7 separate regions of the Homo sapiens genome follow, and regions 1, 2, 3, 4, 5 and 6 are each linked to region 7. The links are contacts of gene promoters, found by promoter capture Hi-C in blood cells and fetal thymus (Javierre and others, 2016). All regions are on one chromosome and are shown on one strand. The core of a region is centred on a gene start or on the middle of the fragment in contact, and the rest is flanking DNA. Distances in the headings are between cores, read along the strand shown. Region 1 has its middle 46 kb from the start of PRDM8-AS1. Region 2 holds the start of CNOT6L (CCR4-NOT transcription complex subunit 6 like). Region 3 has its middle 39 kb from the start of ANTXR2. Region 4 has its middle 58 kb from the start of ANTXR2. Region 5 overlaps ANTXR2 (ANTXR cell adhesion molecule 2). Region 6 has its middle 17 kb from the start of ANTXR2. Region 7 holds the start of PAQR3 (progestin and adipoQ receptor family member 3).

What was found. Contacts are between HindIII fragments. The CHiCAGO score rates a contact against its expected background, and 5 or more counts as called.
Region 1: a fragment that was not itself captured here is called in contact with the fragment with the promoter of PAQR3 in region 7 in 4 of 17 cell types (M0 macrophages, monocytes, M2 macrophages and 1 more); the score reaches 6.2 in M0 macrophages.
Region 2: a contact is called between the fragment with the promoter of CNOT6L here and the fragment with the promoter of PAQR3 in region 7, in 4 of 17 cell types (naive B cells, fetal thymus, monocytes and 1 more). The highest score is 8.2, in naive B cells.
Region 3: a contact is called between a fragment that was not itself captured here and the fragment with the promoter of PAQR3 in region 7, in 1 of 17 cell types (monocytes). The highest score is 6.7, in monocytes.
Region 4: a fragment that was not itself captured here is called in contact with the fragment with the promoter of PAQR3 in region 7 in 2 of 17 cell types (monocytes and naive CD8 T cells); the score reaches 6.8 in monocytes.
Region 5: a contact is called between a fragment that was not itself captured here and the fragment with the promoter of PAQR3 in region 7, in 2 of 17 cell types (monocytes and M2 macrophages). The highest score is 9.9, in monocytes.
Region 6: a fragment that was not itself captured here is called in contact with the fragment with the promoter of PAQR3 in region 7 in 1 of 17 cell types (total CD8 T cells); the score reaches 5.7 in total CD8 T cells.

Annotation. Positions count from the first base shown.
Region 1 is chr4:80,150,011-80,152,897 of GRCh38, reverse strand. No RefSeq gene overlaps it. Among named protein-coding and RNA genes, the nearest start is that of PRDM8-AS1, 46 kb to the left of the region's middle. The HindIII fragment of the contact is 1,064 bases long and covers 762-1,825 here.
Region 2 is chr4:77,817,996-77,820,823 of GRCh38, reverse strand. CNOT6L (CCR4-NOT transcription complex subunit 6 like) reads left to right here and starts at 1,456. Exons shown (of 12, transcript NM_144571.3): 1 at 1,456-1,520. The coding sequence starts at 1,516. RefSeq lists silencers at 410-559, 820-979, 1,020-1,119, 1,610-1,679, 1,760-2,159. The HindIII fragment of the contact is 6,822 bases long and covers 1-2,828 here.
Region 3 is chr4:80,110,909-80,113,931 of GRCh38, reverse strand. No RefSeq gene overlaps it. Among named protein-coding and RNA genes, the nearest start is that of ANTXR2, 39 kb to the right of the region's middle. The HindIII fragment of the contact is 4,380 bases long and covers 1-3,023 here.
Region 4 is chr4:80,129,580-80,132,460 of GRCh38, reverse strand. No RefSeq gene overlaps it. Among named protein-coding and RNA genes, the nearest start is that of ANTXR2, 58 kb to the right of the region's middle. The HindIII fragment of the contact is 6,253 bases long and covers 1-2,881 here.
Region 5 is chr4:80,059,421-80,062,262 of GRCh38, reverse strand. The region is part of intron 3 of ANTXR2 (ANTXR cell adhesion molecule 2); the gene reads left to right. Among named protein-coding and RNA genes, the nearest start is that of ANTXR2, 12 kb to the left of the region's middle. The HindIII fragment of the contact is 6,040 bases long and covers 1-2,842 here.
Region 6 is chr4:80,088,512-80,091,442 of GRCh38, reverse strand. No RefSeq gene overlaps it. Among named protein-coding and RNA genes, the nearest start is that of ANTXR2, 17 kb to the right of the region's middle. The HindIII fragment of the contact is 3,097 bases long and covers 1-2,931 here.
Region 7 is chr4:78,937,918-78,940,920 of GRCh38, reverse strand. It overlaps PAQR3 (progestin and adipoQ receptor family member 3), which reads left to right and starts at 1,483. Exons shown (of 6, transcript NM_001040202.2): 1 at 1,483-1,881. The coding sequence starts at 1,697. RefSeq lists silencers at 1,304-1,793, 1,884-1,953. The HindIII fragment of the contact is 16,646 bases long and covers 1-3,003 here.

The DNA.
Region 1 (2,887 bases), core at 44-2,543, 1.2 Mb before region 7:
GAGAATTAGCAATTACTGAGAAATCATGATGACAACTTAGGGACTATTGACAATTAAAATTTTTCATCTTCAGACAGAGAACATGGCTGGATTAGAGGGGAAAGCATTCTCAAATTCAGCAGAAACAGTAACAAATTGCTGTCCTGATTTTATTTATAAACCCATGTCGTTTTAGATTATCTGTTCTAATTGCAAAATCTTTCAGTAAGAAAAAAAAGTAATAGTTGCGAGAAAAGCTTTCAAAATAGCTTATCTCTGATCATTAGAAAGAAACAAAGTAATACAGACATACTCCAGAGAGTGGTATCATCCACCATTGATGGTAACAATTCTCAAGTGAGACTGGGTCATGATACAGCTTAAATTTTTGGTAAAGAAGACAGACTTCAAAATAGGTACAAGCTGCTCTCATGAACTAATAAATACATTTTTGAAAATTCAGAAAGAATAGAAAAAAGTGCTTCAGAATAAAGTAGGGGTCTCAAGAACAGCAGAGAACCCAAGACAGACGCAATAATCAATAGATTAATTAATCAACAAATCAATTCAGTACCCTAGAACCAGCTTCTATAGGAGGCACTGAGGATAGAATAAAAACATAACACAGATTCAACTCTCAAGAAGCTTGTAATCTAGTAGAAGAGGAAGAAAAGACCGAAATACTATGCAAGACTCATTTGAATCATGGTATGAGAAAAAGAGTGATTCGTTCTACTGGACTTGGTCAGAAGAGGCTTCACAGAGGGACACATATCTAAGCTTGATCTTGAGAGATAAATAGGAGCCTTTTGTTTTGGAGAGTAAGGGAAAACATTTCAATTAGAAGAAACAGCATTTAGCAGACTTAGAAGATCTGAAAGAGTCATGTCGGAAAGACTAGGACACAGAAAAACAGAACTTATGGAAACAGTGGGCTACAGCAAAAATGAACTTGGCCGATGAACTGAAAAAATAGAGATTTTGGAGACTGGGAAGTGCAGTATTACTAATTTAACAGCAAGAAAATTATTGTTCAATCAACAACAGGTTATCATATATTTCTAATTTCCCCCACCTCCTTATCCCTTCATCCTATTCACCTCCTGATGACCACCTCACTAAATGTTTCTGTAGCTAGTCTCCATGGCACTGTAGCACGGCTAAACCAGCTGAGGGTTTATAAGCAACTAGCACAAGTTATTGTGCATGATGACTCCAGGAGTTATACCAGGGACGTTTCTTGGATGCCCCAAAGTTGTTGGGTCACAGCCCTTACTCCAGCCTAGTTTTGCCCATGCTTGAAATGGCCAAAGGGAGTGAATTTTCTGGTGAATTCTGATGAAGAGCAAAATACAAAGAAGGGCAATGGTATCGTCGCTCATTCATATGCAAAGAGAGAAATACATTGCGTAAACATTTTGTTTATCAACTAGAATACAAAATTATTAATATTTTATTTTAAACCACATTTTCTTTTTATTGTGACTGTATCTTTTCTTGTGAATCATCTTCTGAACACACTTAGAGTTGATGATGGGAAGTAAATTTTAAATGCAAGTAAGTTCTGTGGTGAGGAGGTAGGATCTCAGCATTATTCCATCAACATGATGCATTTTCTAAGTAAATGTTTACCATTATAATGGCACATACATAAAAGCTCACGTACAAATGTTGCCAATAAGGACTTAAGAAAGCATTTCTATATATCCATTCTATAAAATAAATATAAAATATTTTATGGAATACTTATAAATACATATTTCCACAACATACTTTAGAAAAGAACCAAACCCCTTTATGACAAATCTGCCAACAGAATAAACAATCTTGACTACAATGCAAAGCTTGCCAAGTCCTGTCAGAAAGCTCTTGTGCCTCAGTGTAATTCTTGAATAGTGAAGAACCACTAAAATAACCCTTTCACTCAGACTCCTGTGATTCCCTGCAGGGAGCTTTCACTGCAGTTGTCACTGTGCAAAAGCAATCAAATTTAACATATAGATACAGGGAGAGAAGGCGTGTGAGAGCATATGTGTGTGTGCTCTCACATATGTGTGTATGTATGTATATAGAAGGACAGCTGATGTCTCTGATCTAATAAAATATATATGAATAATTGGCAAAGGGGTCTGTAGGACTTCAATGTCTTTAGTTTTTCACCCAGTGGACTTCAAATTTTATTAGAGCTAATGGAGATTTTCATTGAGTTTATGTTCATGGATTTTTAAGTCCATATACTCAGCAGGACAAAATTATCATATAGAACAGTATTTCTCAAATGGTAGGTTGTGATTGATTAGGAGGTTATAAAATCTATTTAAAAAGTTGTGATCAGCATTTTAAAGATTGAAGTAAAATAGAATAGAAAACTACAGAAAAGTAGTATAGTATATAGTAAATGTAATATTTTTGTGAAATTTTAGTGGGTATATGAATATGTGTGTTTGTAAGTGTGCATGTATATGTTTTTATTGGGCCATGGTCTCCACTTTAAAATGTGAATTGTAATAAAAAAAGTTTGAAATTCACTGACATAGAGTTTCTCTTTTAATTCTGTGTTCAGTACAGTATTTTCATCCTGGAAACAATGAACTCCCTGAAGGCAAGTATTGGATGTATTTCATCTTTATACCCTCCACAGCCCCTGAAGTGCCATGCACTTAGTGGAAGATCACTAAAGAATTATCAAACAAATGTTGAGAACTTCAGCTGGTTGTATTTAAAAGGATAATAAAGATAATAGTTTGCATTGATACAGCACTTCATACTTTTCAGAGTGCTTTCCCATCAATGATCTCATTGATAATTCAGAACTATTCTGTTGGAAGGAAGCACATGGACTGTTGCATTAATAAATTTAATTATCTCCTAAGTGTGCTTCATATTTCAGTGGTACACAATAAGACAT
Region 2 (2,828 bases), core at 207-2,706, 1.1 Mb after region 7:
ACAAACAACAAACTAAAGTCTACAACGAGAAGGGAGAATTAGAAAATAGGACCGGGTTATCGCTGAGCGTCACAGGTTCTTTTATTTACCTTTGACGATACAACTTACAGATGCTATATGTTTTTAAAAAAAATCCACCGAATATGTCAGGAAACATTTCCTTCGGTCACTTCACCTCCCCTGGCGTCTCAGCCACCTAGACCTACGCTCTGCTTCGCTGTCAGGTCGCCTCGGGCGAGGAGGGTGCAGTAAACAGCGCCCACACAAGAACCCGGGGTGAGGCGGTTTCCCGTCTCTTCGCCAAGGCTCTGTGGATGTGGGTTTCTGAAACTCTACCACTCTTCTCAGCCCCGCTCCTCGCTCAGGCCAGGAAAAAAGAGTGAGAAAACAGCCAGAGCAAAACAGAAAACCATTAAGAAGCCCGGGCCTCCGCGCGCTCACCGCGACAAAACGCGGCGCACGGGGGGCGGGGCCAAGGCGCTGCGTAGGAGCTCCGCCCCGTCACCGCCCCGCCTCCTTCCCCTCACCCCAACCCTCCGCGCCGGGGAGTGACTGACTCCCGCCAGCCCCTCCACGTCAATCAACCCTCCTCGTTCTCGCACTCTCTGCACCTTGTTATTAATCTCAATACCGATATCGCCCGGACGCCTCTCCCCCGGCCCTCGGGGGTGTGAACGTGTGTGAGCGGGAGCGAAGGCACCGAAAGCTGGCGTCTCTGTTCAACCTCGGCCCCAGCAGCACCCGGCGCAGCGGCAACCCCCGCAGCGGCGGCAGCCCCAGCACCAGGAGGCCAAGGCCAAGGCCAGGCTCTGCGTGGCTCTCGGAGCAGTAGCCGCGGCTCCGGCCCTGCGGGGGCGCAGCTTCCTTCGGCTGGGGCCTTCGCGCCGGCGGCCGCGGCCGCGGGGCCTCTCTTGCGCGCCTGGGGTCACTGTCCTCGAAGCCCGGCGGCGCGGCCCTCGTCCCCCTTCCCGACCCCCGGTCTGTCTCCTCGCTCCCTTCAGCCGCCTTCCGCGCCGCCGCCTCTGCCGTTCGTCAGGCGGCCCGGCCCGGCCCGCCCGCCCCGCATCCCCTCCGGCCGGTGCCTCTCCCCTCCGGCGGGCTGCCTGCATGTCTTTGCTGCCCTCAGCCCCGCCGCCACCGCCGCCGCCGCCTCCCCCGCCGCCGCAGCACCAGCACCAGCCGCCCCGTCGCCGCCGCCGCCGCCGCCGCCCGGACCCCGGCGCGCTGAATGCAGGTGAGGAGGGGGCGCGGGCCCCCCGAGACCCCGGGCCCGGGTTCCCTGCGCGCCCGCCCGCGAGCCCCGGTTACGGGCCCTGTGTGCCGCCGCGGCTTCCCCTCGGGGCGGGCGGGAGCGAGGCCCGCCGTGGGTGTTTGTGTTTGCGTCTGCGTCTGCGGCCGCGGCTCTGGAGGGGAAGCATCTGTGGGGGCCTGGTGCGCGCGCGCGCGCGTGTTTGTGTGTGTGTTTCCCCTGCCGCGGGGAAATGGCTGCTGTTGCTTCTGGGCCAGAGGAAGAGAATGAGGTAGAGTGTTCTTTTGCCTCCGAGTAGGACCGAGAGTGTTGGGAAGAGGAGCGCGTCCCCGGGGAAATGAGGTGGGAGAGGGACAAATGTGCGTGTGGGTGTGCGAGTTGGGACTTTGGCGGGCGGGGAGGCGGCCCGAGGACCCACGGCGAGTGGGTGTGTGTCGGGTGACTGGAGGGGGCGGCGGGGCTGACCCGCGTCTCTTCAGAGGCGGGCGAAGGTTCCGGGGTGTGTGTGTGTGTGTGTGTGTGTGTCGGGGGTGGCCCGGGGCCGGGACCCCAGAGTGGCGTGTCCCTCCCGCTTTGTGGCTGCGGCTCCCGAGCCTCGCAGGTGAGAGCTGCTCCTAGGGGGCCGGCCGGGGAGGGCTGAGTGAGTGCGGCACACGCGCGGCAGCGGGGCTGGGAGAGCTGCTGGTCGGTGCCGCGCCGCTGATCCCGGGGCCGCCGTTCCCCGGCCGCGGCAGGAAGCGCGCCGGCCTGCAGCGCGGCCTAACTGCCTGGGCGCCCGCCCACCTCCCCGGACGCCTCCCGGGACGGCGAGCCCGCGCGAGCCCACGGCGCTGCCTCGGGCCTGGGCAGGTGAGGGTCGGAGGCGGGACTCGCCGATTGCCGTCGCCGTGGCCGCCTCCGCGTCTCCTGAGAGGCGAAGGCTTATTTTGGCGTTCCAACTGCAAGCCTTCGCCCGGCCGGCTGTGGGACCCGAGGGAGGAAAGTGAATCAGAACAGTCAGTCTTGGGAATACGCGGTGTCGTGTTCCCTTCTTTTCATCCTTCCCCTAAGGCTGTGTGGAGGGACTGAGTAAATATTTTGGATTTTTGTTGCAAATACTTTGCCGTTGGTAAGATTTTTTTTTTTTTAATTAGACAAACATTTTCTTGGAAGGGCTGAGGAAGAAAGGGAAACTGGCTTTCCTGGCCTGTGGGATTGGATGGATTTTGTGCATTTGAAATTGTTTTATCCTGCCTCCTAGGGGGAGAGGCGTGTACGCGCCGCCGAGCTGAGGAGCTGGGTGAGGAAGAGGAAGTTACTGGAGCTGTCATCCTGCTTAACTCGGTCGGCTATTGAGCTTAGACTGTTTAGGTGGATTGTGTTCAGGGAGTTTAGCTGAGCCGTTTGTACACATTGGAAGCACAGTGTTACATTTTACCGTATTGCCTCTAGTTATCTTGTCAATCAAGATAGGCTCAACAAACATGTTTTCCTCAGTCTCCAAAAACTAGATCAAGCAACCTCTGTTGTCTACTCAGTATGTGCTGCTGGAAAGCTATTTTGAGAATAGCCTAAGCAAAACCCAGTTGTAAAGATAAAC
Region 3 (3,023 bases), core at 49-2,548, 1.2 Mb before region 7:
AAGAGCACCACTGAACTGTACACTTAAAAATGGCAAATATGGTGCATTTTATATGGATGTTTTACCTCAAAAAATTTTAAAATAAAGAAATAATTTGCTGGCCAGTTGTGGTGACTCATGCCTGAAATCCCAACACTTTGGGATGCTGAGATAAGAGAATCACTTGAGGTCAGGAGTTTAAGACCAGCCTGGTCAACATAGCAAAAACCCATCTGTATTTTCTAAAAAATTATAAAATAAAAAAGAAAGAACTTCCCGCCAAGACCCAAGGCGGGTGGCTAGCTGGTAATCTTCAGCTTTTAGCTTCATAAGGATTAGCTTCTGCTTTGAAGAGGTGACTCTAGTCAGTGGCTGAAAAAGGCAGTAGTGTAAGGGATTAGCCATTGCTATCCAATGTGAGACCCTTGCAATGTACAATCTTTGCTCCAGGTCTTTTGGCTGGTCTGGCAGGGAATGTGTCTTCAGCATCATCGTCTGAAGCTCTCTCTTGCTCAGTCTTGTTTTCTCAGCTTTCCTGTTCAGGCGTTGCCCCTCAAAAACAATCCACACTCCTAATTCCATCTCAGAATCTGGTTTCCAGAGAACCCAAACCAACAGACTTCACCTAGATTTGTGGGGGAAGAGGAAATGGAAGTCAACTCTGAAGAATTGATGTTTAAGAATTAGCCAGGTTATGGGTGGGGGAAAGAACACTCCAGGAAGAATTGGATATTATGTTTAAAGACCTCAAGGAAGGAAAGAGTGGGAAGAACGCTGATATGCCTGGAGCATAAAACATGAGGGGAGAATAACCCAAGATGGCTGGGGGTGTGGGCAGGGGCCATCATGCTAAGAATCTGGATTTCATCCTAAGGGCAGTAGAAAGCCACTAAAAGCGCTTCCCTGTAGACAGGGAAGTATCATTATCAGGTTTGTGGTTTTATAATATCAGTTTAGCTGCTATGTAAAATGTGCGTTAAAGAATGCCAAGAGTGGAAAAGGAGAAACTAGATAGAAAACCATTTAATTTTCCAAGGGAGAGATAATAGTGGCTTGGACCATGATGGAGTGGCTGCGAGGATGGAGAAAAGTGAACCTATTCAATACACGCTTTGGAAATAGGCTTTTCTGAGTACTTCACCATCCTTGGACTTGTAACAGGTTATTTGTCTTCATTTTGTCTAAGTCTAAAAGACTTGGGAAGAAATTTTCCCAATGAAGTAATTCTAAAATACCTCATTTTATTTATAAATCATTAAAAAATATGATTGTCGTAGAGCTTTAAACTTTTTTTATTTTTTTTAGATTCTTTGTTTCCAGAGAATCTAACACAGCTGGCTATAGTTAGGTTTATTTATTTACTTTCATTTTAATTTTTTTTAGAGAGAGAGACTCCATCTGTGGTCCAGGCTGGAGTGTGGTGGCCCAATCATGGCTCACAGTAAGCTCAAACTTCTGGGCTCAAGGGATCCTCCCACCTCAGCCTCCTGAGAGTAGCTAGGACTACAGGCGTGCGACCACGCCTAATTTTTTTTTCTTTTTGGTAGAGATGAATTTTTGTCATGTTGCCCAGAGTGATGTCAAACTCCTGGCCTTAAGAAATATTCCAGCCTTGGCCTTCCAAAGTGCTAGGATTACAGGCATGTGAAGTTAGATTTGGTTTAAAATTTTACCCTTTTGTATTAAATTAAATTAATTAATTAATTTAAAGACTTTTTAGAGCAGTTTTAGATTCATAGCAAAATTGAAAGGAAGGTACAGAGAGTTTTCATGTATATCCTGCCTCCACACATCCATAGCCTTCCCCGCTATCAACATCCCCCACCAGAGTAGTATATTTGTTACATTTCATGAACGCACATTGGCACATCATTATTCCCTACAGTTTACATTTAGATTCATACTTGTTGTAGTAAGTTGTACGGGTTTGGACAAATGTGTAATGACATGTATCTACCGTTATAGTGTCATGCAGAATATTCTCACTGCCTTACAGGTCCTCTGTGCTCTGCCTATTCATCCTTCCTAACCCCTGGAAACCACTGATCTTTTTACTGTCTCCATAGTTTTTCCTTTCCCAAAATGTCATATAGTTGGAATCATACAGTAAGCAGACTTTTTAGATTGGCTTCTTTCACTTAGTAATATGCATTTAAGTTTCCTCCATATCTTTTCATGACTTGATAGTTCAATTCTTTTTGAGTGCTCGGTAGAATTCCATTCGCTTGGTGTACCACAATTTATTTGGCAGTTTTCCTATTGAAGGACATCTTGGTTGCTTCCAAGTTTTGACAATTATATATAAAGCTGCTGTAACCATCTCTTACAGGTTTTTGTGTAAGTATAAGTTTTCAACTGCTTTGGGAAAATACCAAGAAGTGTGATTGCTGGGTTGTATGGTAAGAGCATGTTAGTTTTGTAAGAAACTGCCTGTCTTCCACAGTGGTTACAACATTTTGCATTCCCCCCAGCAATGAAGTAGAATTCCTGTTTCTCCACATTCTTGCCAGCATTTGGTAGTGTCAGTGTTCTGGATTTTGGTCATTCTAATAGATGCATAATGGTATCTCACAGTTGTTTTTATTTGGATTTTTCTGATGAGATGATGTGGAGTGGATGTTCCTTCACATGTTTATTTGCCATCTATATGTCTTCTTTGGTGAGGTGTCTGTTCAAGCCTTTGGTTCATTCTGTAATTGAGTGATCTCTTATTGTTGATTTTTAAGAGTTCTTTATATATTTTGGATAACAGTCTTTTATCAGATTTGCCTTTCGCAAATTCCAGTTTCTGGCTTTTCTTTTTATACTCTCGACAGTGTCTTTCACAGAGCAGAAATTATTTTATTCTACTGAAGTCCAGCTTCTCAATTCTTTCTTTTACGCATTATGCCTTTGGTGTTGTATCTAAAATGTCATCACCAAACCAAAGATCATCTAGATTTTCTCCTATGTTATCTTCAATAAATTTTATAGTTTTGTGTTCTACAATTAGGTCTATAATCTATTTTGAGTGAATTTTTGTGAGGGGTATAAGATCTGTGTCG
Region 4 (2,881 bases), core at 346-2,845, 1.2 Mb before region 7:
GTTTAACTTTATAATAAATTATCAAATTACTTTTCAAAGTAGTAATACCTTGATTTTTATTTCATAATCTCTGGATTCATTTTCTTGTTGCCATTATGACAAATTACCATAAATTTAGTGCTTTTAAACAACTGGTATTAATTATCTTACAGTCCTGAAAGTCAGAAGTACAAAATTAATCTTAGGGCTTGCTCCTTATGGAGGCTCTGAGGAGAGAATCCATTTTCTTGTCTTTTTAAGTTTCTAATGGCTACCTGCATGTCTTGGCTCACGATCACTACAGCATGTTGCTTCTGTCTTCACATTTCCTACTCTCTCTTTAATCTCCGAACTCCTTCTTTTGGGGAAGAATCCCTGTGATTACCTTAAGCCTGCCAAGATAATCCAGGACATTCCCTTATCTCAAGATCCTTAACTTAAATCACATCTACAAAGTCCCTTTTGGCACATAAGGTAATAGTCACAGGTTCTGCGGATTAGGATGTGGATATATTAGTGGGCCATTTTTCAGCCTACTACAGGCTCTAACTTTCTAATTGAATAGTTTTAATCAGAATACCCATATAGCCAAAACTCTGAGGTACATACAAAGTTTTTGGTATCACCTCCTCAGGCTTAATAGCTACTATTAATTGATGGCTACCATATGCCAAATGCTGTGCTGAGTACTTTGCACATAATCTTAACTCACACAACTATCCTGTCATATGATTTTAAATGTCCCCAGCTTAAGATGAAAAGACTGTGCAGACTTTTGTACAAGGTCACAGCATAACAGAGCTAGGATTGAAACCTGTTGCAGCTTTACATAAAGTCTATACTGTTAACTACTATGATTCATTGCATTTATCTCATTCAGTGTTTCTTATAATTTTTACTTTACTACTTAGTTTACTACTTAGCTTCATTTCATAGAGATGTTTCAACAGCATTTATTTGTAACCTTCTTAGTATGAAGCATTACAGCAGACACTGTCAGTAAAGAAAAAGGAATTGTTGCCAGCAATCCAAATTGGGAGAGTGAACAAGTATAAAAATTACAGTAATTGATATTTAGTGAAAGTACACATAAGAGATAGAAACAGAGTTATGAGACTTCAAAGTAGAGAAATCACATTTAGTTTTATATGGGGATGGTGGAGGAGGAGTATTGCGAATCTATGGGAAGGCAGAGGGTACTCATCAAGAAAGGCCTCACAGAGTACATACAATTATGAGATATTATTTTTAGATTTATTGAATCTAAATTTAGATAAATCTAAATACACTTGAAAAAGGTGTAAACTGCTATTCTTTACTGGGTCCATTTTAGCCATCATAACAACTTGTTTGTGTTCAATACAGTCTAAGTGGTTGGTACACAGTAGTTAGAAAGCTACTAGATTTAATTCTTTATAGCAGAATTATATCTTTAAATATTTCCCTATTTAGGTTGCAGACTATTGCCTTAAGATGAGAAACACAAGAGATCTCAGCAAGACCTAAGTCAAATTCTTGACTATTTCAGTTCTGAAGTAACAATAATTTTGATAATTTTAATAGTAAAAAAACTGCTTACTATATGCCACATACAGTCCTAAACACTATATATATTCCAGACACTGTACTAAGTGCTTAGCTTATTTAATCACAACAACCCTTTGAGACAGAAACTTTATTATGCTCTTTTTTCCAGACGAAGAAACTATACAGGTTGATTTATGTAACGTCAAATAGCTAGTATACATTTACACTGAGATTTGAACCTGGGCATTCTGGCCCTTGAAACCAAGTGCCTAATCATTATATATTACTGACTCTAAGAGTAGACTAAATAGACTATTACTACTCTACACCAGAAACTGTTAGCGGTCGAAAAGCCAGTGCTTTTGATTTACATGAGCCTTCTTGAGAGACAATATATTTTTCCTTAAAATTTCAAGAGGTAGATTTTGAACATCAAGAGGACACAGGATATGTAATTTATCCTGTGCATCATAGAGTTGACAAAAATGCAGGATGATATAGGATCAGGGTCTTTTTTGGTCACTTAAAGGAGATGAAAGTCTGATCAGCTGGTGGCAAAAGAAAAATCTGAGAAGGCCCTACTAGGGCTTTAATGGGTGCCAGAAAAGTTCCTGCTTACTTCCATTGTGTGTAGTGTAAACCTCATAGGGAGGACAAAAGAAAGCCTGGCTAAGTGTATGGGGATCCATAGCAGATGGAGCTTCAGAGGGTGCAGCTCCCAAACTGCAAAGTAAAAGACGTCCCAAGTCCAATATCATGCCTGAGTGACAATGGACCATTACTGAAGGAGGTGTCTGATCATAGGTCCAAAGACAACCTCTCAGAGCCCCCAGGTACTCTAGAAGCAAGGGCTAAATGTAGGCTGGTGTATGACAGGATACACTGTCCAAGCCAGGGCAAGCATCAAGGGACAGAATGGTACCCAAAGCCTGAATGAACAAAACACTCAACTTTGGCCAGTGTGGATGGAGGATGATGTCATACCTTATAGACATTCCAGTTCTGATCCTGGAGACAAAAAGTAAGACTCCTAGAATTTAGATTATCCTTAAGGGGAGGAGAAAGAGGAAAAACATGAAACAGAGTTTTAAACCAAAACAGATTCAGATATATCTGAAAGGGACTGAGCCACCTTGAATTAGCAAAGTTAACTTTTCAATTAGAACAAACTTGAGAAATAAGTAAATAATTTATAGAAAAACAATAAAAAGTGCATTTTAGAAAATCTTACTTTCGTTGCCTGAGCTTCACACTTCTTCTAGGGAGAGAAGAAAAAAAAAACGTTAACACAGTTACTAGGCTTGAAAAAGGCTATCTTGCTATAAACATTCTTTCCTCAAGATTTTAGACGTTTTGTTCATAGGTCAGGAAATTT
Region 5 (2,842 bases), core at 46-2,545, 1.1 Mb before region 7:
TTGGAGAATATTTTTGACAAAATTCAGATTGTACAGGGTATTTTGTGAGCAGATATTTCTGGATCTATGACTGCTACCTTGGATTTGCTGGTCTGGACTCTGGACCACAGAAGCCTTGGCCTATGTTGGCATTAGAATGACATGTTAAATAAACAATAAGCATATTTTACATAGACTATAGTAAGATACAGCTAAAACCCATTAGTTCCCAAGATTTTAGAATGTATTAGCAATAGCAATGTGTGTCTTTAGAAAAAATCTTTCACTCATTTGAAACCTTTAAACAATTTTTAAATTGAGGAACTTGGTGAGAACAAATTACTTGTTAGAGGTTCATCCGTTAAGCAGTATGTAGGGCAGTAGTATATAGTAACACAGTTAAGTAGAGCAGGTATATATGAATGAACATATTTCTCTTCATACAGTTTTTTTCTATTTTTCTTACTCAGGTTAATTTTGTGGTTTATTAATGGAAGGAGACAATAAAAGTATCAAAGTTTACTGAGCAGTTACTATATATTACATATTTTACTAAATTCTTCATATGCAATAGCTCAGGTAAAGTACAATTCTAAGTGAATTCTAAGTGAATTATAAATCATTAGCAATTTTGTATAGTCATAAATAACATCTTGAGAACATTTTCGTTTCATATTCTACTCAATCTATTAAATTTTACCCTAAAAGAAACATTTCAGGATGCTGTGTAATTGGCTAATTATCATAAAATCCTTATGTATTGCTACATTTTGTTTTGGAATTACTGTTTATTTCAAGCAGATTAAGTCTGTGGCTAATAATCTATTGAGAGTAAAGAAAATAATTTACTTATGATATAAATACCTATAGTATTCCTGCAATTATATAAATTGGCATTTGACAACATGAGTGTGTGAGGCTTTTTGTTTTAGTGGTAGATTATTTCTTTGGTGGCTTCCAATGAAGCATAGAATACACACACACACACACACACACACAGAGGCACACACACACTTTTTACTTTTTAAAATCTGGGTCTAGGCCTACGATTTATTTACTTCAGTCAATAGAATGCAGCAGACATGAACATGAAACTGCCAGTTTGAGTTCCAGGCCTAAGATTTATTAAGGCATGGTAGTTTCCTCTATTGTTTTCTTGGAAACCATCTGTCATATGAAAACTTTGACTACTCTGAGACCACCATGCTAGGAAGAAGCCCAACCTAGCCATGTGGAGGAGAATCGAGACTCTGGTTAACAGTCTTAGCTGAACTCCTAGGCAACAGCCAGTATCAGCGCTGGCACCGACTTGCTAACCATGTGAAGGCATTCCGCTTCTAGCCATTCCAGTGGCTCAACTGGCAGCATGTGAAGCATGAGAACTGCTCATTCAATGCACAGTGCCATGAGAAACAATCAATTTTGCTGATAACCACTAATTTTGGGGTACACTAGACTCCCCTTATCTGAAGGAGATCTGTTCCAAGAACCCCAGTTGATGACTGAAACAACAGGTAGTGCCAAACCCTATATATACTATTTTTTTCTATACATACATACCTATGATAAAACTTAATTTATAATTTAGGCACAGTAAGAGATTAACAACCATAACTAATAACAAAATAGGACATTTATAATAATATACTGTAATGAATCCTTACAGTGGCCCCATGGGGGAGATATTTATATTCCTATTTTATAAATGAAGAAACAAGGTTGAGCTTGGAACTAATCTCTATTCTGTCTATAAGCTCATGCACATCTTCATCCATACCATCCCAGAAACTATTTATGGTTTAAGAGATTATCCTATTTACCCAAAACTCTCATACAGAAGCAATGACTGGCAAAATAGGTAATTCAAAACGCATTCCAATAACACAAGAAAGTTTTAAAATTAGGTTAGATCAGAGGTTCTTAATCCTGGCAGCGCATTAGAATACTCTGGGGAGTTTTCAAAGGCCAGTGATAACCCTGACCCAACACAAACATGTGAATTAGAATCTCTTCAAATAGAGTCCAGAAGAGCTTTTGAAAATCCCCTCAAATGATTCCAGTGTACAGCCAGGGTGGAGAACCACAGTGCATATATAGAGCTTTATGTGAGTGACCCCTGGACTGAGTGTGAGGAATTCTCACATCACTGTGTAGAATCACGGTGTTCACATACAACAGATGCTCAACAGATGAGTGTAGACTCATTGACTGAAATCCTGAAAGAGCTTTGAAATCTGGAAAGTTAAGACAATGTGCATTGGAAAGTTCAAGTACTGTACAGACACATCGTAGAAAGAAAAAGTAGGAGATACTGAAAATAAAATTATGCCTTCATTGTTAGTTGGTCAATTCAGGATTCCCTGCAGACTGTTTTATGACACCATGATTTCAGTCTATCTTTATTTTAGTTATAATGCCTTGCATACCTTCCACATCCAAAGTGTTTCAGAGAAAAGCTACTGATATGGCACAGTGCATGGCAGTTGTGGTGGCTATTTTCCCTTCCCTTCCTCACTCCTCTCCTCTTCTCCCCTCTCCTTCCCTTCCCTGCCCTTCTCAGCAAAGAAATTAGGGAGATACAAATAGAGCTGAAAGTGCTAATTTCATACATTAAAAAATTAGCCAAGCCTGGGCATAGTGGCTGAAGTCTGTAATTCCAGCACTTTGTAAAGTCAAGATGAGAGGCTTGCCTGAGGCCAGGAGTTCAAGACCATCCTGAGCAGTATAGTGAGACCACATCTCTATAGAAAATTTAAAAGTAGCCTGGTATAATGGTATATGCCTGTAGTCTCAGCTACTTGGGAGACTGAGGTGGGAGGGTTGCATGAGTCCAGGGGTTTGAAGTTGCAGTGAGCTATGATTG
Region 6 (2,931 bases), core at 185-2,684, 1.2 Mb before region 7:
CTGCATCAGGGAAAAGATAAATTATTTGTTTGATCTCATGAGTTTGGTATTGTGTTATGATACCATCTAACATGAATGCAGTTTAAAATTCTATGTGAAGTCCTCTGTTTTGACTGTTAATTCAGGGTGGAAAACCATTTCGATAGAAGTGTCAAGGAAATGATGAATGGTGAAAATATCAAGTTGGTTAGCTAATAGTTTTGACTGCCACATGATTCTTCTCGTACTATATCATGTATGAGCAAAAAAGGCATTAATTCAAAGATCAGAAATTCAATGAGTTTTAAACTGCTCACTTCAAGGTACATTGAATTTATCTGCAATAGACTCTACATATTGATGCTTGGGTCTACTTGGCTCCTTGAGTTTATATTTAATATTTGTACCACAAACGAGAAATCATTAATGAACACCTTTAAAATACAAATTTTCAAGGTCAGAATTTCGAAAACAACAGCTGGTTGGTTGGACCATGCATTGCATTTTATTTCTCTATATTATTTCATTAGATTATCAATCAAAAAGTTTACTATAATTTCAAAATAATTATTATAGTCATTTTCAGCCTTTTCTTAGTCTAATTGTGGTTAACATGAGAGCAAAATCTTTTGGACAGAGAGGAGATGGGAATATGATCAGCATAAGCAATACGGATATTGTACTGTATGGAACTGAGACATCCCAAAAAACTAGCTTGTAAGTAGCATTTTTGGAAAGTAAATCTTGTTCTCCCAGTCATACTCTTCATAAACCAAGGGCCCTTCTTGTGAAAGACATCTTTTGAGGAATTTTCCCAGCATATCATCTCCAGGAAATGTCCTCTCAGTGTCAGGTGTGGGGTCTTGCATTAGACTCCAGTCTCATCCACAAGTCCTTTATGACCCCCTCTGTAGTTTCCATGGGACCCTTTTAGCTTAGTAATATGTTTCCTTTAGTATTTATCTAGTTCACATTGGCATCTGTTACTAAAATCAAATTTCTTTCTTTCTTGTGGGTAAACCCTATGGATTGAATTGAAAACTTTGGTTTAGAAGTGGCAGGCTCATTATCTACTGTCATGACCTTGTGGGACACTGTTCCAACAGTGAGATTCCCCCAGGGCTCTTCTGTCTCAACCTTCCCATCCACTGTCTCATGTACAACCACCGCCCAGTCTCTGCTGCTTTTCCAGGCACAGCTGACCTTCAGACTACACACACTTCTCTGAGGCATGGAAATTCCCTTGCCTTCCCACCCTCAGTGTCATTCTTGTGATTCTGCTTTTAAATGTACAATTTTTGGATCCTTCCAGGTTTTCATATTTCACTGAGCACAAAATAAAAAGCAATACAATAATAGTAAATTTTACATGTTTAAAAAATAATTTTAAGTGCTTTCAGCTCTTCCTCATCTTTCACCTCTAATTTGTCTTGCCACAGCAACCTGATGATTCTTCTAAAAGAACAGCTCTGCTCAAACCCCTCTGCCATTTAAATTTATTACTGTATCTATTTTGTCTACACAAAAATGTTTGCACACTAAAACGTTTTTAGCTAAGGTAGACTTTGGTAAACTTTTAAAATTAAAGGCCACATAGTAAATATTTTAGGCTTGTGGGCCACATGGTCTCTGCCTCAACTATCTAGCTCTGCTACTGTAGCACAAAAGTGGTCACAGACCGTATATGAACAAATGGGCATGGCTATGTCCAATAAACATTTTTTTTTCTTTCAAAAACAGATAGCAGGCAGCATTGACCTACAGGCTCCTACAGATTGGGCCTTACCCAGGTCTGTCAGTTTTATTTTCTATTTCACCCTTCACATACTCAGGGCTCCACTGAAATTCAGGTTCTTTTTGTGTTCATTAGGTACTCTGTACATTCACTGCTCTATGCTTCTGTTCCCTGGGATGCGGCTGGGGGAGGATATAGGAAGACTGGTGTTTCTCCAAGTATAGTTTACATAAGAGGTGTCTTTACATTAACTTTAAGGTAATATGTTGTCATGCTGCTTGTTAAGTGTATGATGGCGATATACAGGAAAAAGCATAATAAAATACATGATTAAAACAATAGTAAGACTTTGATACAGGTAATACTATGAGAGAGGTGAGAAGGTAATTAAAGGGGTGCACCTTTTTAAAAAAATATGGGTGCCTTTTTCCCTATCTCAAGTAATGATGTCAGCCTTTCAACTCCCATCCTCAGCTAGAAACTGGTTATGCTTTTTCTTTCTAGGGTGTTTTCTTCCCTTCACCTGTGATAATCTTAAAAACATGACCCATCCTTCAAGATGCACATTAAATTCCCTGTCCTTCATAAACCCTTATTTCTCCAAGTGTAAGTGGTTTCTCCCTCTTCAGAATTCGTATTGCATTCCATCACATCATTTCAGTCTTTGTATTATGGTTATTTTTAAATGTAGCTTAGCTCAGTAACTAGAAGATCCAACTAGGATATCTCACTTGCTAGACTTTGCATATTCCAAAAAGCACAGATCAGTGCTTTGCAGAGAGCAGGCATTAAATGATTAATAAATTTTTAAAATTTGTAAAAATGAGTTTCTTCAAATTAAAGACACTTTTGTTTGATGAAGAAGTGTTAACTCTGTATAAAGATCAGGGTCAAAAGCAAACCCCTGATTTACTAATCTTTAAAAAATATCCTCAGGCACTTGTGGTCCAGTATTGTTGAACTTGCGTTGGTATTTTTGCCAGCCAAATTTGCTACATATGAAACCCATTGGCCATTTGGGGATTGACAACTTTCCTACTGCTCCTTGCAAAGAACTTCCCAAGAAAACTGGGATAGATAATCTATGTGCCATATGTGCTGTTAAAATAAAGTTGGATATGCACTAATCAAGTGGTTTCCATGAGAAACACAAGGCCTCCAAAATATAAAAAATCTTTTTAATTGTAGTACTTATGGTAGTCACTCCAAAGAGCAAA
Region 7 (3,003 bases), core at 234-2,733:
ATTCTAGAGAGTTCCTGCCCCATACTCTGAGGCCAAGAATTTGAATGAACTGGCCTTGCTAGCTAGGATCCCCCCTCAGTTTATTATCATTAGATGATGCCCCCTTTCAATCATGTTTCTCCACAACTATCCACTCCTTTCATCAGACTTAGCATAAAAAGCCCATTTTTTCCTGGGTCTTTGTGTCTTCATTTCTGAAGACTCCTCTGTCACATAAAACTGTGTTAAATGAATTTATTATCCCTTTTCTTGTTAATTTTTATTATTTATTTTTTGAGACAAAGTCTCGCTTTGTCACCCAGACTGGAGTGCAGTGGCACAAACATGGCTCACTGCAGCCTCGACCTCCCAGGCTCAAGCAACCCTCTCACTTCAGCCCAGAATAGTTTGGGACTACAGGCGCCCATCACCACACCCGACTAATTTTTGTTTTTTGTTTGTTTGGTTGGTTTTTTTTGTAGCGACAGCGTCTCACTATGTTACCCAGGCTGGTCTCCAACTCCTGGGCATAAGCAATCCGCCTGCCTCGGCCTTCCAAAATGTTGGGATTACAGGCATGAGCCACCTGCGCCTGGCTTCTCTTAATTTTTTTCATAGGAATGTCAGCTGTGAACCTTGTGATAAGTGAGGACAAGATATTTTTCTTGCCCTTACAATGCCAAACAATGGACTAAGCGTTCTATTATACACATACGGTACTCAAACTGATGTTTTGCCCTGTTGCCATTATAAGTAAACACTTGCATTACAGTAAATAGCCAGAAACAAAGCTGCAACACTTCCTGTAAACGCTACTATAGCCGCACTCCACAGGATTTTTTAATATGTTCTATATTATTCAGTTAAGTAGATATTCTCATTTCCATTGTGATTTCTTCATCAGCCCTTGAAATATTTGGTGTATTGCTCCTATTCCAGACGTGGAGACTTTTAGTTTTCTTGTTACTCTAGTTTAATTCTACTGTGATCAGAGAACATAACGCTGAAAGGGGTCGGAGTTTTGAATGCACGGGGGCTTTCCTTTATGGCTCAGGATGTGCTCGATGCTGGTGTATGTTCCACGTGCATCAGGTTTCCTCTCTTTCCAATTATCGTGCTAAGAGCTGACTTCAGCTTAGAAATCCTCAAAGTCCCTTCTGACACTAAGTGTGTGTAATTCCAAGCATAAACTAAACGGTAATTACCTCGAACTTTTCTTCCTGTTAACTCTTTTCCTCTTGATTTTTCAAAATGCAGCAACTATTACTTCTAATAAAAAAACAGAAAAAGAAAAAAAATCCACTTGTATTCGCCTGTAGCTCTGTGCTTTCGGCTCTTCTCATATGCAAACGAAGACCCCAGGCGCCGCCAAAACACAGCGTGAGAGACGCCCGGGAGCCCGGGCCGCCGCCAGCGCACGCTCGAGCACACCCGGGCGCGCCCCAGCACCCTGCCCCTCCCAGCTAGGGCTGAGGGGCGGGGCCGCCGCGGCGCGCTGACGTCAGAGGAGGCTGCGACGCTGCCGGGTCCGCCGCGGCGCTGGCGGCAGTGGCCGGTGTGAGCGCAGAGCCGGGCCCTGGGCAGCAGCGGCAGCGCGGTAGGACCTCGCGCAGCGTCCGCGGGCTCCGGGGCGGGGGCGCCAGCGGCGAAGCCCCCTCCCCGGGGAGGCGGGACCTGGGGGAGCTCCCGAGCCGGGGAGCGGCGGCGGCCGGGAACGATGCATCAGAAGCTGCTGAAGAGCGCGCATTACATCGAGCTGGGCAGCTACCAGTACTGGCCGGTCCTGGTGCCCCGTGGCATCCGCCTGTACACCTACGAGCAGATCCCCGGGTCCCTCAAGGACAACCCGTACATCACCGACGGCTACCGGGCCTACCTGCCGTCCAGGCTGTGTATCAAAAGGTACGGTCTGGCTGCCTCCGCCTGGAGTGCCCCCTTCTCTCACCTACACCCTTTTTGTCTGGTCCCCCTTCTGCTTTCCCCGCCTTTCTGCTTGCCCATCATTTCCTCGCCGCCCCATCCTTTTCATCCCTTTTTGCCGCCTCTCCTCCCCCGTTATCTCCCCTTACCTGGCCGGGGTACTTGGTCCACGGAATAATCATGATAGTAACAGTGATCATAATTACAGCTCTCCTATGACGCTTTGCTCTTTACAAAGGGCTTTTACATCCTTTATTCGGTTTGTTCGGCTCATTGAGATATATATTGAAATGGGGCTGAGCCATATTTGCCCGGTGTATACCTTTCTTTTTAGAGCAACACTGTGGGAATTCAGTAGCTTTGGGCCAGATAAGTGCCTGTATAATAGGAAACAAGTTAACATATACACCCGAGATTTATTCATTTGGCAAATACTTATGGAGCCCATGCAGAAAAAAAAGCAAACATGGCCCTTGTTTTCATGAAGCTACTAAGGTGTAGCCTGGGTAACAGACATTAAATAGATAATTACACAATTACATAATAACCATTGTGGAAAAAATGCTGTGTAGGAAAAGTACTGTGGTAAAGAGAGCTCATAACGGGCACCCAGTCTCCACTAGAGCACCACAGAAGCATCTCTAAGAAAGAAATTTCTTTATCATTTTAAACCTTTAAAACCACAGTCCCTTGAAAATCCGTGTTTTAAAAAAACAAAACTGAAAAATAACTATTCTAGTTCTTGGAGTAACTGTCCAAACTTACTACCTGTACTAAAATACAGGACCTCTGCTTCAGGAGAATTAAGATACAGGTGTTGGTTAGCTCCAGGTCGCTGTAGTGGCAAACCCTAGTGCCAGAATGTGGGCTGTTGAATTGCTCAAGCGGCAACCACATGTCTGATTCTTGATTTTTCCAGCATTGTCTTTTCCTGCCCTTCTTTCCTTTTGTCCTGCCATGAAAGTGTTTCTGTGACTCATGGTCACAAGGTGACATCACTGCCCATCCCTACTTGGCTTGAATGGATGGCCCTTAGGATTCACAACTTGAAGCGTAATTACCGTTTTCCTCCCCAGTGCCTCCTGTGCATGAGTAAATTACACA